2 separate regions of the Homo sapiens genome follow, and region 1 is linked to region 2. The links are contacts of gene promoters, found by promoter capture Hi-C in human tissues and cell types (Jung and others, 2019). All regions are on one chromosome and are shown on one strand. Each heading gives the region's core, a stretch centred on a gene start or on the middle of the fragment in contact. The rest is flanking DNA. Distances are from core to core; before and after follow the strand shown.

Region 1 (6,727 bases), core at 2,636-5,135, 370 kb after region 2:
TTTTTTTTAATGTGCTACTAGATTCTGTAGTAAATATTTAGGAGTTTTATCTGATACAAAGAGATTATTCACTATAGATTTTGAATAGGTATAAGTTGTACAGTAATCAATATTTTGGGAGTTGAAAGTGTATGAAGGTGAAAAAAAAAAGTGTATGAAGTTGAATAGCCTGATTAGAACTCACATCAAAATACCTGGATTTATCATCAGTAAAATCCATTCATTTCAGGGTACCTTCATTGATGGTGCCCCTTCAAAACTTAGAATTATTCATACCTTGCAAACACTGAGAAACTGTTTTATCTCCTTTCAGAAGTGGAGGCCAGAAGTATTTATAAACTCTAGTAGATAGTCAAGAGGAAGAGAAGGCTATAAATTTGACGTGTACTAGTCTTAAGACCTCATCAGTTTTGATCATATTAATTCAGTAGAAGAGAGAGAGTAGGCTAGATAGAAGTATATCAATATGCAATTTATTGAGTGTTTGTTCAGCAAATGCAAGGTACAGAATGGAGTGGAGATATGTAGCCTATTTAATAGAAGTAACTAGCATGCTTGAGCCAAAGGTAAATGAGAGAAATGGGAAGATGCAGAACTAAGCAAGGTGGGTGCACCAATTATGGACCCCTAAGGAAGGGATGGAGACCAGAGGAATTACCGGAAATGCCTGTCAGGTTTTAATTAACTCTTGGCAGTAATCTCCGATAGCTCCTAAGATATTGCTAATATGACTGTGCTGTATCTGCTGCTCCTCCTGCTGCTGCCACTGCCACCGCCACTGCCAAAGCTCTCTAACTTACCTGAATTGAGACCAGAGCACCTTAGCTTTCCTTTGCAGACCTTAATGTTTGTGGAAGGGCACATGGGAGGAAGTGGGGAGAAGGTATGGGTTATTTTGCCTGCTGATATTTTATTTTATTTATATATTTTATATTTTTTTGAAACAGAGGCTCGCTCTGTCACCCAGGCTGGAGTGCAGTGGCACAGTCTCCACTCACCGCAATCTGCTCCTCCCCACTGGGTTCAAGTGATTCTTGTGCCTCAGCCTCCTGAGTAGCTGGGATTACAGGCGCACACTACTGCACCTGGCTGATTTTTGTATTTTTAGTAGACGGGATTTCACCATGTTGGCCAGGCTGGTCTTGAACTCCTGACCTCAAGTGATCCATCCGCCTTGGCCTCCCAAAGTGTTGGGATTACAAGTGTGAGCCTCTGTGCCTGGCCAATATAGATGGTTTTTCTTATAAGCTATTTCTTTTGATTCTCTGTGGTAACTCTGAGGTAGTCAAGTAAATTATTGTTATTCTCATATTTGTGATGAGAAAGGCAGAGCTAGGGCTTGAATTTGGTTCTTTTGAGTGAGATACCAAGGTTCTGTTTGTTTGTTTGTGACGGAGTCTTGTACTGTCACCCAGACTGGAGTGCAGTGGTGCAATCTTGGCTCACTGCAGCCTTTGCTTCCTGGGTTCAAGCAATTCTCCTGTCTCAGTCTCCCGAGTAGCTGGGACTACAGGTGTGTGCTACCACGCCCGGCTAATTTTTGTATTTTTAGTGGAGATGGGGTTTCGCCATGTTGGCCAGGCTGGTCTCAAACTCCTGATCTCAAGTGATTTGCTCGCCTCAGCCTCCCAAAGTGCTGGGATTACAGGTGTGAGCCACTGTGCCTGGCCCCAAGGTTCATTTTAAATATTGGGTCTGGTTGTGCACAGTGGCTCATGCCTGTAATCCCAGGACTTTGGGAGGCTGAAGACAGATGGATCACTTGAGGTCAGGAGTTCAAGACCAGCCTGGCCAACATGCCGAAACCCATCTCTACTAAAATTACAAAAAAATTACCCTATTCAACATGCTGAAACCCCATCTCTGCTAAAAATACAAAACAATTAGCCAGGTGTCCTGGCACCACACCTGTAGTCCCAGCTACTCGGGAGGCTGAGGCAGGAGAATCGCTTGAACCCAGGAGATGGAGTTTGCAGTGAACCTGCATGAGCCTCACTCTGGCCTGGATGACAGAGTGAGACTGTCTCAAAAAATTTTTTTAAGTAAATAAATAAAAATTAAATATTTGGTCTGGGTAATGGTTATTTCATGTGCCCAGAAACCTTCAGAATGTAAAGCTATCTTCTAGAGCAGAGATCCCCAACATTTTTGGAACCAGGGACTGGTTTTGTGGACAACAGTTTTTCCATGGATGGTGGATAGGGGGTTGGGGTTTTGGGATGAAACTGTTCTACCTCACATCATCAAAGCATTAGTTAGATTCTCATAAGGAACACAACCTAGATCCCTTGTTTGCACAGCTCACAATAGGGTCCATGCCTCTGAGAATCTAATGCCAGCACTCATATGACTGGAGGCGCGGAGCTCATGCCATAGTGCTCACTCCCCACTCCCCCAGCTGCTCACCTCCTGCTGTGTGGCCTGGTTCTTAACAGGCTAGCGATCGGTACCGGTCCAGGGGTTGGGGACACCTGTTATTGATCATAAAAGTTACCGAAGTCTGATTTCTGTATCAGTGGTTCTCACACTTTGGGTCTCAGGGACTCATTCATACTCTTAAAAATATTGAAGATCCCAAAGAGCTTTTGTTTACATAGGTATATCTGTTAGGATTTACCATATTAGGAATTAAAACTGGTAAATTTAAAAAACATTAATTTAACAAACTCATTTATGGTAACATAAGTAAGGTTGCTCTTTTCCACAATAGATAACTGTTTTCATAAAATTTTTTAAGTTTGAGGAGTGGCATTGTTTTACATAGCTAGAAATATTGTTGATACCTGTTTGACTTACAGAAGACAGCTGGATTCTTGTATATGCTTCTGCATTTAAGTCTGTTGCTGTTACATTGTTTTGTTGAAGCATATGAGACAGCCTCACAGATGTGTAGTTTGAAAAGGGACTAGTATTTTAACAGCTTTTTTTGCAGATTCTTGTGGACCTTCTTTCACGCTAAACAAAGCTGGACAAGTGGTACTTACTTTCTAAAGAAGAATCAGAGAGTCTAGGAAGTATGGAACCTTTTGTTGATTTGAAAGGTGATCATCAAAAACACCACAACGTTCATGTATTTTGTAGTAATTCTCTGGGTATTTGTATTAGACTTGGTAGGTTTTTAGTTTGGGGGGGAATAGGGATGAGATGGTGTCACTAAGCTCGTTGGAAAATGGGAGAGTTTTCTCATGTGGGGACTTTCTTTGTGGAAAATAGTTATTACTTCAAATATACAAAGGAATCTAGTGAACTCCTCTATGACTCCTATCTTACCTACAAGAAGTCACCAAACTTGTATCTTTGTAGCTGAGGAGAAATAAAGCAAGCAGCAGTTGGCAAGCAGGATCAGAAGACCATCATTTTGGAGGAGATAATTCTAAGGAAGAAGGATGGTAGTGGTGATACATATTACCTAATAGAGAGAAATGCAGAGTACCTGCTATACTTCATATGACCCAGGTTTTGAGGGAAGATAAATTACTCTCTGTAAAAAGAGATGCTAAGTACTACAGACTATTATAAATGATAGCTAATTAGGGGTGTTTGACTAATCTGTATTCTAATATCCTAATTTAGATTGGCAACTTCTCTTATCTGAGTATTGGGAGCTCCATTAATACATGGTAGTGTTCTTTTTGTCAGTCTGTAGGTATATTGTTAGAGCCATGCAGTGACCGTGGTGATAGTGAAGATGGCTGTCTTGAGAGGTAAGCATTTTTTCTTGTTGCTAATTAATCATTTTGAGAATTGGAGCTCTTCACAGATTTTTGAGGTGATTTTTTTAGATGAATGTCCATTATAAATATATAGTTTAGATAATCTTAAACAGCCTTCTTGTTATAATGGTAGGCATAAAGGATATTAAATACCCATAAATGTTTGGATTTGTACAGGTTCAGACAGTAGTTATAACTTGGAAAACATTCAGAGGGAAAAACAGCCTTTTTGGAGACATTTAAATCTTTCAGTTGATTGTGGAACAATTGGGAATTTACTGATATTCTGAGTATACCTGTCAGTGAGTTAATTCATGATCTTGTAACTGTGTATAACTAACTGAGAGATACTGTATTTGATTCAACAAATATGTATAGGATGTTTTTCTTCCTCTTTGAATTTATCCTTGGTGTGTCTCAGTACACTCTTAGGCAGCTGGTGCTTTTTTAACCTCTTTGGCTGGCTGTAATGGTAGAGAAATACTGGAGGCAATGAGTATTTCGACTAATGTAGAGTCTCAATAGATAGCCTCTTTGAATAGAAGCTTTCTAGAATGTTTTAAATCACAGAGTAAGATTTGGGTTCTTGTTACCCTTTGCATCAGTCTTCAAGATGCTGCCAAAAAGTATAACTTTCTTAGGAAGGTGATTTGAGATTCTGAAAACACTTCAGTAATGAAGTTGCAGGCTAGATTGTAAATATTGAGAGATCCCAGACAGTATACTAATTTGCTGACAGCCTGTTGGCCAGGACATATTTGTATTCTATTGTTTCTTTTAATTATAAGTAGGAAGCCTGTTCTTTAAGGGTAAGCAAATTCTTTGGAGCCACGTCTCTGGAGCCTCCCCATACTCTGAAGGTCCACAGATTTCCTTATAGCAGTTCCTTGTCCTTCCTTTCAGGAGGCAGGAATCATCCTCTTCCAGCCCAGGAAGTATTGGAGCTATGGGCTGAAGATATAAAATTAACAACATTAACAGGCACCCCCAGAATAGTGACATCTGGATTTGGTAGAACAATAAGGACCCATTTAGTGAGGACTCTTCTGTTGTTGTTGTTGTTGTTGTTGTTGTTGTTGTTTTTGGAAAAAGCTCTCTCCTCTTCAACTTCAACTGTGTATAAGTTAGCAAACTGGTTTTTAGATCCAGAGTACCTTGGTTAGGTGGATTACATTTTGTATGTTTAACATTCATGCTTCTCAAATGTAGGTGATTAGGTCTTTTAGGCTGCTAAGGTAGTAATTACTCATCCTACCATTTGCTCCTACTCTAAGCAAAGGAATGCCTTTAAGCTTAACAGAGCATTTAGTTCATTTCTTATTCTCAGCAAGAATAAGGTAATTATCTGTATGAGAAGATGACTTGCAATATTTAGATCAAGGCATGTCTCCTGAGTGCATACTCTGTTATGGCCGGTTAGAAGTGACATCTCGATGTGTCATTGTAAATTGCCACTGTGTCTTTGGGGAAAAGAACTTTCCCCCAGTAGGCATATTGATAATCTACTGTATAATAGCAGGTGCTCTCTTGACTGGTAAAATAGGTACAGATCACTTACGACAGCTTGCTATAACACTTGTTCTAAATAAGGGTTAGTTTTTCTGGGGAAGTAAAAGGTGGACTGAAATTTTTTAAAATTTCCTTTTAGTATGTTACTGTTATATTTTGAGGAGGGAAAGGTTTGGAAGTAGTAACCTTCTCTGATTGGAAGTAGTATCCTTGTGATAGAATACAGTCAAGTTTAAAGTAAAAGACATAGTGATACCTTTTTAAAAAGTTTTCTTTGAAAGTCTCAAGAATGGAGAGAATAGAGCTGTTTATTTGGTTAAAACATTTATTTTATAAAATCTTTATTATACATTCATTCTTTTGGGTTTCTACTTACTGTGGATTTTAGTTTTCATTTTATAAAGGTTTTTCTTTTTTGCTGTGGTTTGTGGGGTGGAGTAGGGATTGTTACTTGATTTTTCTAAACCCGAAGTGATTCTGTGGATCTTTTCAGTATTGTGTGATTTTTCAGATATAGGGCTCCAAAGAATGGGCATGTGTCCAGTTGGCATTTTCTCCTCGCACATTGTAAATGCTAACTGTGTTATGGAGTAGAGGAATCTAGGTAAGAAATATATAATGATAGTAGCCTTTTTATTCTTAATATACTAACAACTTTACTTGTATTTTTAGGGAAGAATATTTGTTATTTGACAGTGATAAATTGTCACACTTGATTCTGGTAAGAACTATTTTTTTGTCTTAGTCTTTAAAAACTTGCCTAGGTTTAAACTGTTATGTCTGGTCTTTAATGTGGGTTAGCTAGGTTTAAAGATTTAAATATAAATACTCTTACCAAATATTTTACAGTTAAACAGCAACTTAATTTGCCACTTTTGGTTACAAGAGACTTGGTTGTGAAAACACTTTCCTGAATTTGGGATCCAAACTTGTCTTCCAATAAGACATATTCTAAAACTGCATGTTTATATTTGAAAATAGTTTGCACAGTGGGAGTGGGACAGTTGGCTGTATAGGCACAGTAAACTAATGAAGACTACACTTGGATATGTGCTGGATGTGTTTAAGCTGGGTGTGAAAAGCTTCCGTAGTTGTGAAATATATTCTTTATTTTAAAATACAGGATTCTAGTAGCAAGATATGTGATTTGAATGCCAACACTGAATCAGAAGTACCAGGAGGTCAGAGTGTTGGTGTTCAAGGGGAAGCAGCGTGTGTCAGTATTCCACATTTAGATCTGAAGAATGTTTCTGATGGTGATAAATGGGAAGGTAATTTTACCCACACGCATTATTTTCCTGATAATGTTACTTGTAACCGAAATTACCCTAAGCAATGATAAGACTACAGCCCTTTTCTGGATAACCTTATTCATCTTGATCTTCTGTTCTCCCTTTCATGTAAGATGAACAAGTGGGTGTTTTTAGTGAAACACACTGAGATTTTGGGGCAGCATCTCATATGAACTAGAAGTTCTTGTCTGATCCATCAACAGCTTTGAAAAT
Region 2 (6,231 bases), core at 3,327-5,826:
AGACGGATCACCTGAGGTCAGGAGTTCGAGACCAGCCTGGCAACAAAGTGAAACCCCGTCTCTACTAAAAAATACAAAAATTAGCTGGGCATTGTGGCGCCCATCTGTAATCCCAGCTACTCGGGAGGCTGAGGCAGGAGAATCGCTTGAACCGGGGAGGCAGAGATTGCAGTGAGCCGAGATTGTGCCACTGCACTCCAGCCTGGGCAACAGAATGAGACTCTGTCTCAAAAAAAAAAAAAAACAAATGAACAAAAAACGAAGTGCTGGGATTCCAGGTGTGAACCACCACACTTGACCTACATACTTTGATATATATTCTCATTTTTTCTTACAATCATCAAATGAAACAAAACCTTCTCTTTGACAAATGAAACAGCCCAAGAAGTTAAGTGACTGCCCACATGGTAGGCAAAGGTACTCTCAAAAAGCAGTCTAAAAGCCCTTGCTTTTCACCACTAAGCTGTTCACCTTTTTATTATTAATTAAATTAATAATTTAATTATTATGAATTAAATGGTTGAGTTAAAAGTAGGCATTGGCTCATTTGCAAAACATTGAAAGAAACTGAGACCCAAAACAAAACAAAAAAAACAAAACAAAAAAAAAAACCCTGCAAGTCAAGTTTCAGGCCTCATTTCAAAGGAAGGTTACATCCCCTTTCGTCATCTATAAAATGGCCTCCCAGTGCAGCCCAACACTCCTACCCATAATTAAATCTCCTTATTCCACTTTTAGTTCCCAAGGATTTTTTACTCATGTCCTGCTCTTTCCCTGCTGCCCCCTTTTTAGTCTTTTGTTCTTGAGCCACTGCTTTGAACTGCATCTTAATTATGCCCTCATGGGCCAAACCCCATCTGTGACCCTGCTCCAGTGGGTTTCAGCAAAGGATACTCTCCATCCATATTCTGAGGGCTCCAGGGCCTGGAGCCAGTCATCCAGGAGGTCATCCAAAGGAGTGGAATCCATTGGTTCTAAGACTCTTCATTCCCTGCCTAGGAAGGAACAGCCGAGTTGGAGGAACATGCACTCGATTCAGACCTTCCCTTTTCACCCAGTGAAAGCTAAACCTCTGCAAAGTGGGGAGAAGTAGGGCTAAGCCTACCAGTCATAAAAAGAACCAGGAATAGAAAACACACCCCTCAGCCCCTCTGCCCTGCAGAGGCTGGCTGGGAGGATCCCAGGAATGCAGGGCTCTTCTCCACTGCCTGATCTGGGCATCCCAGGAGTGATGGCTGTACCTCCTGTTCTTGTTTGGTGTTTCAGGGTGAAGCCCGGGCTGTCACTGTGCCCTGGCAACAACATGTATGAGTCAGACTGAGGTCAAGGTGAAGGAACACAGCTCACTGCTTATCACAGTGAATCAGGAGCCTAGATAGGGATTCCCCAAGGATGACATAGGATCAATGCCCTCAATCCAACAGAAAAAGTAAATCTTCAAATCAGATTAAACACCAAACTTCCCACCTCCCTAATATTCTTTCTTCTGGGAAGGATAACTTAGATATATTCCAACACCCTCATAAATCAAGATATAAAAGACAATATTTGACTTCCCTTTAAAATAATTCTACCATTTCACAGTTTGTATGTATGCATGTAAACTTACATGTAATTAGCTAAGTATGTTGCAATTAGCTAAGCCAGCTGGAATCATGAGGAGATAGTGAAAATGTTTGCTAGGAAAACAACCTCATTAACAAACGTAGAGCTTTTAAGAGTTTTGTTGGCTGGGCATGGTGGCTCACACCTGTAATCCCAGCACTTTGGGAGGCCGAGGTGGGTGGATTACCTCAGGTCAGGAGTTTGAGACCAGCCTGGCCAACACAGCGAAACCCTGTCTCAACTAAAAATACAAAAATTAGCCAGGTGTGGTGGCGCATGCCTGTAATCCCAGCTACTCAGGAGGCTGAGGCAAGAGAATCACTTGAACAGAGGTTGCAGTGAGCTGAGATTGCGCCATTGCACTCCAGCCTAGGCAACAAGAAAGAAACTGTCTCAAAAAAAAAAAGTTTTTTTGTTGTTGTTTTTAGGAGACAGTCTCACTATGTTGCCCAGGCTGGCCTCAAACTCCTGGGCTCAAGTGATCCTCCCAAGTAGCTGGGACTACAGGCGCACCACTGCATCTGTAAAAAGTCTTAAGGGCGGCCGGGCGCAGTGGCTCATGCCTGTAATCCCAGCACTTTGGGAGGCCGAGGTGGGTGGATCATTTGAGGTCAGGAGTTCCAGAACAGCCTGGACAATATGGTGAAACCCCACCTCTATTAAAAATACAAAAATCAGCCAGGCGTGGTGGCGGGCACCTGTAGTCCCAGCTACTCGGGAGGCTGAGGCAGGAGAATAACTTGAACCCAGGAGGCAGAGGTTGCAGTGGGCCAAGATTGCGCCACTGTACTCTAGCCCGGGAGAGAGCGAGACTCCATCTTAAAAAAAAAAAAAATACTCTTAAGAGCTAGGTGTATAAGTTCCATTTGAGAAATCTCAGAAACTTATTTTTGGGGCTAGATTTTTGGAGAATTTGTTTTAGGAATGCTGCAACTTTGTCAGAGTGCTCAGATTTTAGTATATTTCCATCACCTGACATTGAACTAAAGCCACTTGGCTGACACCTTTGTTGTGACCACCCACAACTGCACTTACTTGAGGACCTGGTGCAGAAAGCACTGGTAGCCAGGTGTGCACTTGCCATAATCTATCTGCTTTTGCCACCAATAGAGAATAACTTTGTCTCTACTTCCCACCTGCAGGGAAGTATACAATTTCCCACAAAGTGTGATTATACTGTAGTCGTCAAAGCAGATAACAACTCATCCCACACTCCCTTAATCCCCAGCCTGATTTTCAAACTCACCTGGCATAGCAAGGTTCTGTGCTAACTCCTACACTCACTGTCTGTATCCTAGAGGACAAAGAATCTTCACACATCTCCTTTCTGGGGAAGCAGGTTCTGCAGATGAAAAGGGTATTAGGATAAAAACCAGCTGGCTACACTGTGCCTCTCAGCCACTACCACCACCAAGATCCTGACAACAGACACAAGTTGCATTTTGACTTTTGTTTCTCAAAGCATGATCTGCAAGCCGTCTGCATGGGTAGCACCTGGGGGCCTTGATAATGACCCCACTTTAGACCTATCGAATTATCGTTTTTGGAGCCTACATCTTAAAGAGCTTCCAAGGTTATTTTGAACATTTTTATTATGGAAATTTTCAAATATACATTGAAGTAAGAAGTATGGGGTAATACCTTACCACGCAAAGTATGGTCGTAGGACCAGCTACCTCACCATCAGCTGGGGGCTTGTTAGAAGGGCAGAATCTTGGGCCGCAACCGCAACCCAGACATCCCGAATCAGAATCTGCATTTAGCAGGTCCTCAGGTGGTTAGTGTGCAAATTAAACCTTGAGAAGCACAGATATGATGGACCCTCCTGCCCCCATCACTCAACAGTCAGGGTCAATCTTGTATCATCAATACCTTCCCCCAGCACAGGATTATTTAAAAGCAAATCCCTAACATTAGGAATGTCTTTTTGTTTGTTTCACTCTAATGCCCAGGCTGGAGTGCAGTGGCGCAACCTCTGTCTCCCGAGTTCAAGCAGTTCTCATGCCTCAGCCTCCCAAGTAGCTGGGATTACAGGTGTGTGCCACCACAACCGGCTAAATTTTGTATTTTTAGTAGAGACGGGGTTTCATCATGTTGGCCAGGCTGGTTTTGAACCCCTGACCTCATGTAATCTGCCCGCCTCGGCCTCCCAAAGTGCTGGGATTACAGGTGTGGGCCAACGCGTCCGGCCAATAATTTATAAATATCACCTCGTCAATGTTCAAATTTTCATTAATAACCAATCTTTGAGGTCCTCTGGATTGCGATAAGGATTATACCAAGATGATTTAATTCCTCCACTTTCCCTGCAACGGAATTTCTTTTTACCCACGTGAGCTAGAGTCTCTGAGATGCTGCACACTAAAAGAAACACCAAACAAAGCTCTTGGAAGGGGCTAATGCCTCTCAGCATAAACACACACACCCGTCTCGCCCCAACACTTGCCACGCCGGCAGCAAACGCTCCATCTCCCGTGGAAGGCCAGCAAAACTTAGAAGAAAACGTCCGCGAAAACGGCACGAGAAAGAAGCGAAGAAAATGAAACGCTTACAACACCCTCCACCCAAAATAATCTCTCCTAGTATTACCCTAGTGAATGGACATCACTAGTAAGGCGCGGTTTAAATCTCCCGGGGTTCGTGGGGCTGAGGGAACGAGGAAAACAGAAAGGGTGTGGAGATTGGTGAGAGGGAGAGCCAATGATGCGCCAGGCTCCCCGTGAGGCGGAGCTTACCCCGCAGCCTGCCTAACGCTGGTGGGCCAAACACTATCCTGCTCTGGCTATGGGGCGGGGCAAGTCTTACCATTTCCAGAGCAAGCACACGCCCCCAGGTGATCTGCGAGCCCAACGATAGGCCATGAGGCCCTGGGCGCGCGCGCGGAGATTGGCTGACGCAGCTTAGAGGCGAGCGGGGATAGGTTACTGGGCTGGCGGAAGGTTTGAATGGTCAACGCCTGCGGCTGTTGATATTCTTGCTCAGAGGCCGTAACTTTGGCCTTCTGCTCAGGGAAGACTCTGAGTCCGACGTTGGCCTACCCAGTCGGAAGGCAGAGCTGCAATCTAGTTAACTACCTCCTTTCCCCTAGATTTCCTTTCATTCTGCTCAAGTCTTCGCCTGTGTCCGATCCCTATCTACTTTCTCTCCTCTTGTAGGCAAGCCTCAGACTCCAGGCTTGAGGTAAGTCCGCAGCCGTCTCCGCCACGGAATCACGGAGACCCCATTGTCCCCCTTAGGGTCCAGTCGGGCCCCCACAGACAGAGGTTGGGAGGGCCGAATGGGGACTATCGCGAGTTACGAGACCCGGGTTCTTTCTAGTCAGGAGTCTCGAGCTGTGTGGCGTGGAACAAGTCAAAATCCTCTCTTCATTCCATCTTTAAGGTCCTAAGGTTGCCTCTCGTCGGTGAATTCAGGTTCTAACCTTAAGCCAGGCTGTGAATCACCCTTCGGGGTTGCCCCTCTTCCAGTGTTGATTCGCCTGGCTGGAAAGGGTGGAGGAGTTTAGGAAAGCTGAGGGAACTGTGATGTACCGATTTAGATGACGTTTTCCTCCTAGCTAGGTTTTGTTTTTCTCCTGGTGAGAATTCGAAGACCATGTCTACGGAACTCTTCTCATCCACAAGAGAGGAAGGAAGCTCTGGCTCAGGACCCAGTTTTAGGTCTAATCAAAGGAAAATGTTAAACCTGCTCCTGGAGAGAGACACTTCCTTTACCGTCTGTCCAGATGTCCCTAGAACTCCAGTGGGCAAATTTCTTGGTGATTCTGCAAACCTAAGCATTTTGTCTGGGTAAATATACTTTTATTTTTACACTGTATTGCCTTTGCTATTTCCAAACAGTTGGGTTTGTTTGTTGGTTTGTTTTCAATTATCCCGGCTCAAAGGTCAGGCTTTAAGTCTCAACTCTGCCCTTGACTGTGTAACCCTTTTGAGTCTCACCTTCTTTTCTGTGACAAGAAATAATCTCAGCCAGGCGAGGTGGCTCATGCCTGTAATCTCCGCACTTTGGGAGGCCAAGGAGGGCGGATCGCCTGAGTCTAGGAGTTCAAGACCAGCCTGGGCAACATGGCAAGACGCCGTCTCTACAAAAAATATTAAAAGTTAGCTGAGTGTGGTGGTGTGCACCTATAGTCCCAGCAACTCGGGAGGCTGAGGTGGGAGGATTGCTTGAGCCCGGGAGGTGGAGGCTGCAGTTAGCCAAGATCGCCTCACTGCACTTCAGCCTGGGAAACAGAGTGAGACTCTATCTCAAAAAGAAAAGAAAAGACAAAGAAATAATAATCGCTTCCTATCTTACTAGGATCTTGTGAGAATCAAATGATGTGATAACTGGGAAAAGTCTTTGAAAACCGCTGCATTACGAGTCGGTCACTTTATTAGTATTAATATTAGTGTTATTGCAGTTGTACTTTGAATTCTGATCATACCATGTCTCAACTAGCAAAGAGAAGTAGTACCTGAGAAAAACTAGGGACCCCAGGGAGAAATCAAGCCTGTGTTCATAGTGCTCAGGACCGGGAATGTGGAGTCAAGATCCCCCTCGGCCAATAAACTCTGGGCCTCATTTAAAAAAAAAAAAATTATCTGTTTCAGTATGTTGGTAAGGAGAAAATAAAGTACAGATTAT

Evidence for each region. Contacts are between HindIII fragments. The study calls those that stand out against the background at their distance.
Region 1: a fragment that was not itself captured here is called in contact with the fragment with the promoter of CDC25C in region 2 in 1 of the 25 tissues and cell types used here (aorta).

The regions. Positions count from the first base shown.
Region 1 is chr5:137,959,382-137,966,108 of GRCh38, reverse strand. FAM13B (family with sequence similarity 13 member B) reads left to right here. Exons shown (of 24, transcript NM_001385994.1): 11 at 3,640-3,704; 12 at 5,895-5,943; 13 at 6,346-6,493. Among named protein-coding and RNA genes, the nearest start is that of FAM13B-AS1, 70 kb to the left of the region's middle. The HindIII fragment of the contact is 3,541 bases long and covers 2,115-5,655 here.
Region 2 is chr5:138,330,149-138,336,379 of GRCh38, reverse strand. CDC25C (cell division cycle 25C) reads left to right here and starts at 4,576. Exons shown (of 14, transcript NM_001790.5): 1 at 4,576-4,785; 2 at 5,162-5,393. The coding sequence starts at 5,200. LOC100128966 (a long non-coding RNA gene) reads right to left here and starts at 4,275. Exons shown (of 4, transcript NR_146628.1): 1 at 4,195-4,275; 2 at 2,852-2,947; 3 at 895-995. RefSeq lists a silencer at 4,254-4,513 and enhancers at 4,564-4,613, 4,624-4,753, 4,465-5,418. The HindIII fragment of the contact is 27,615 bases long and covers 1-6,231 here.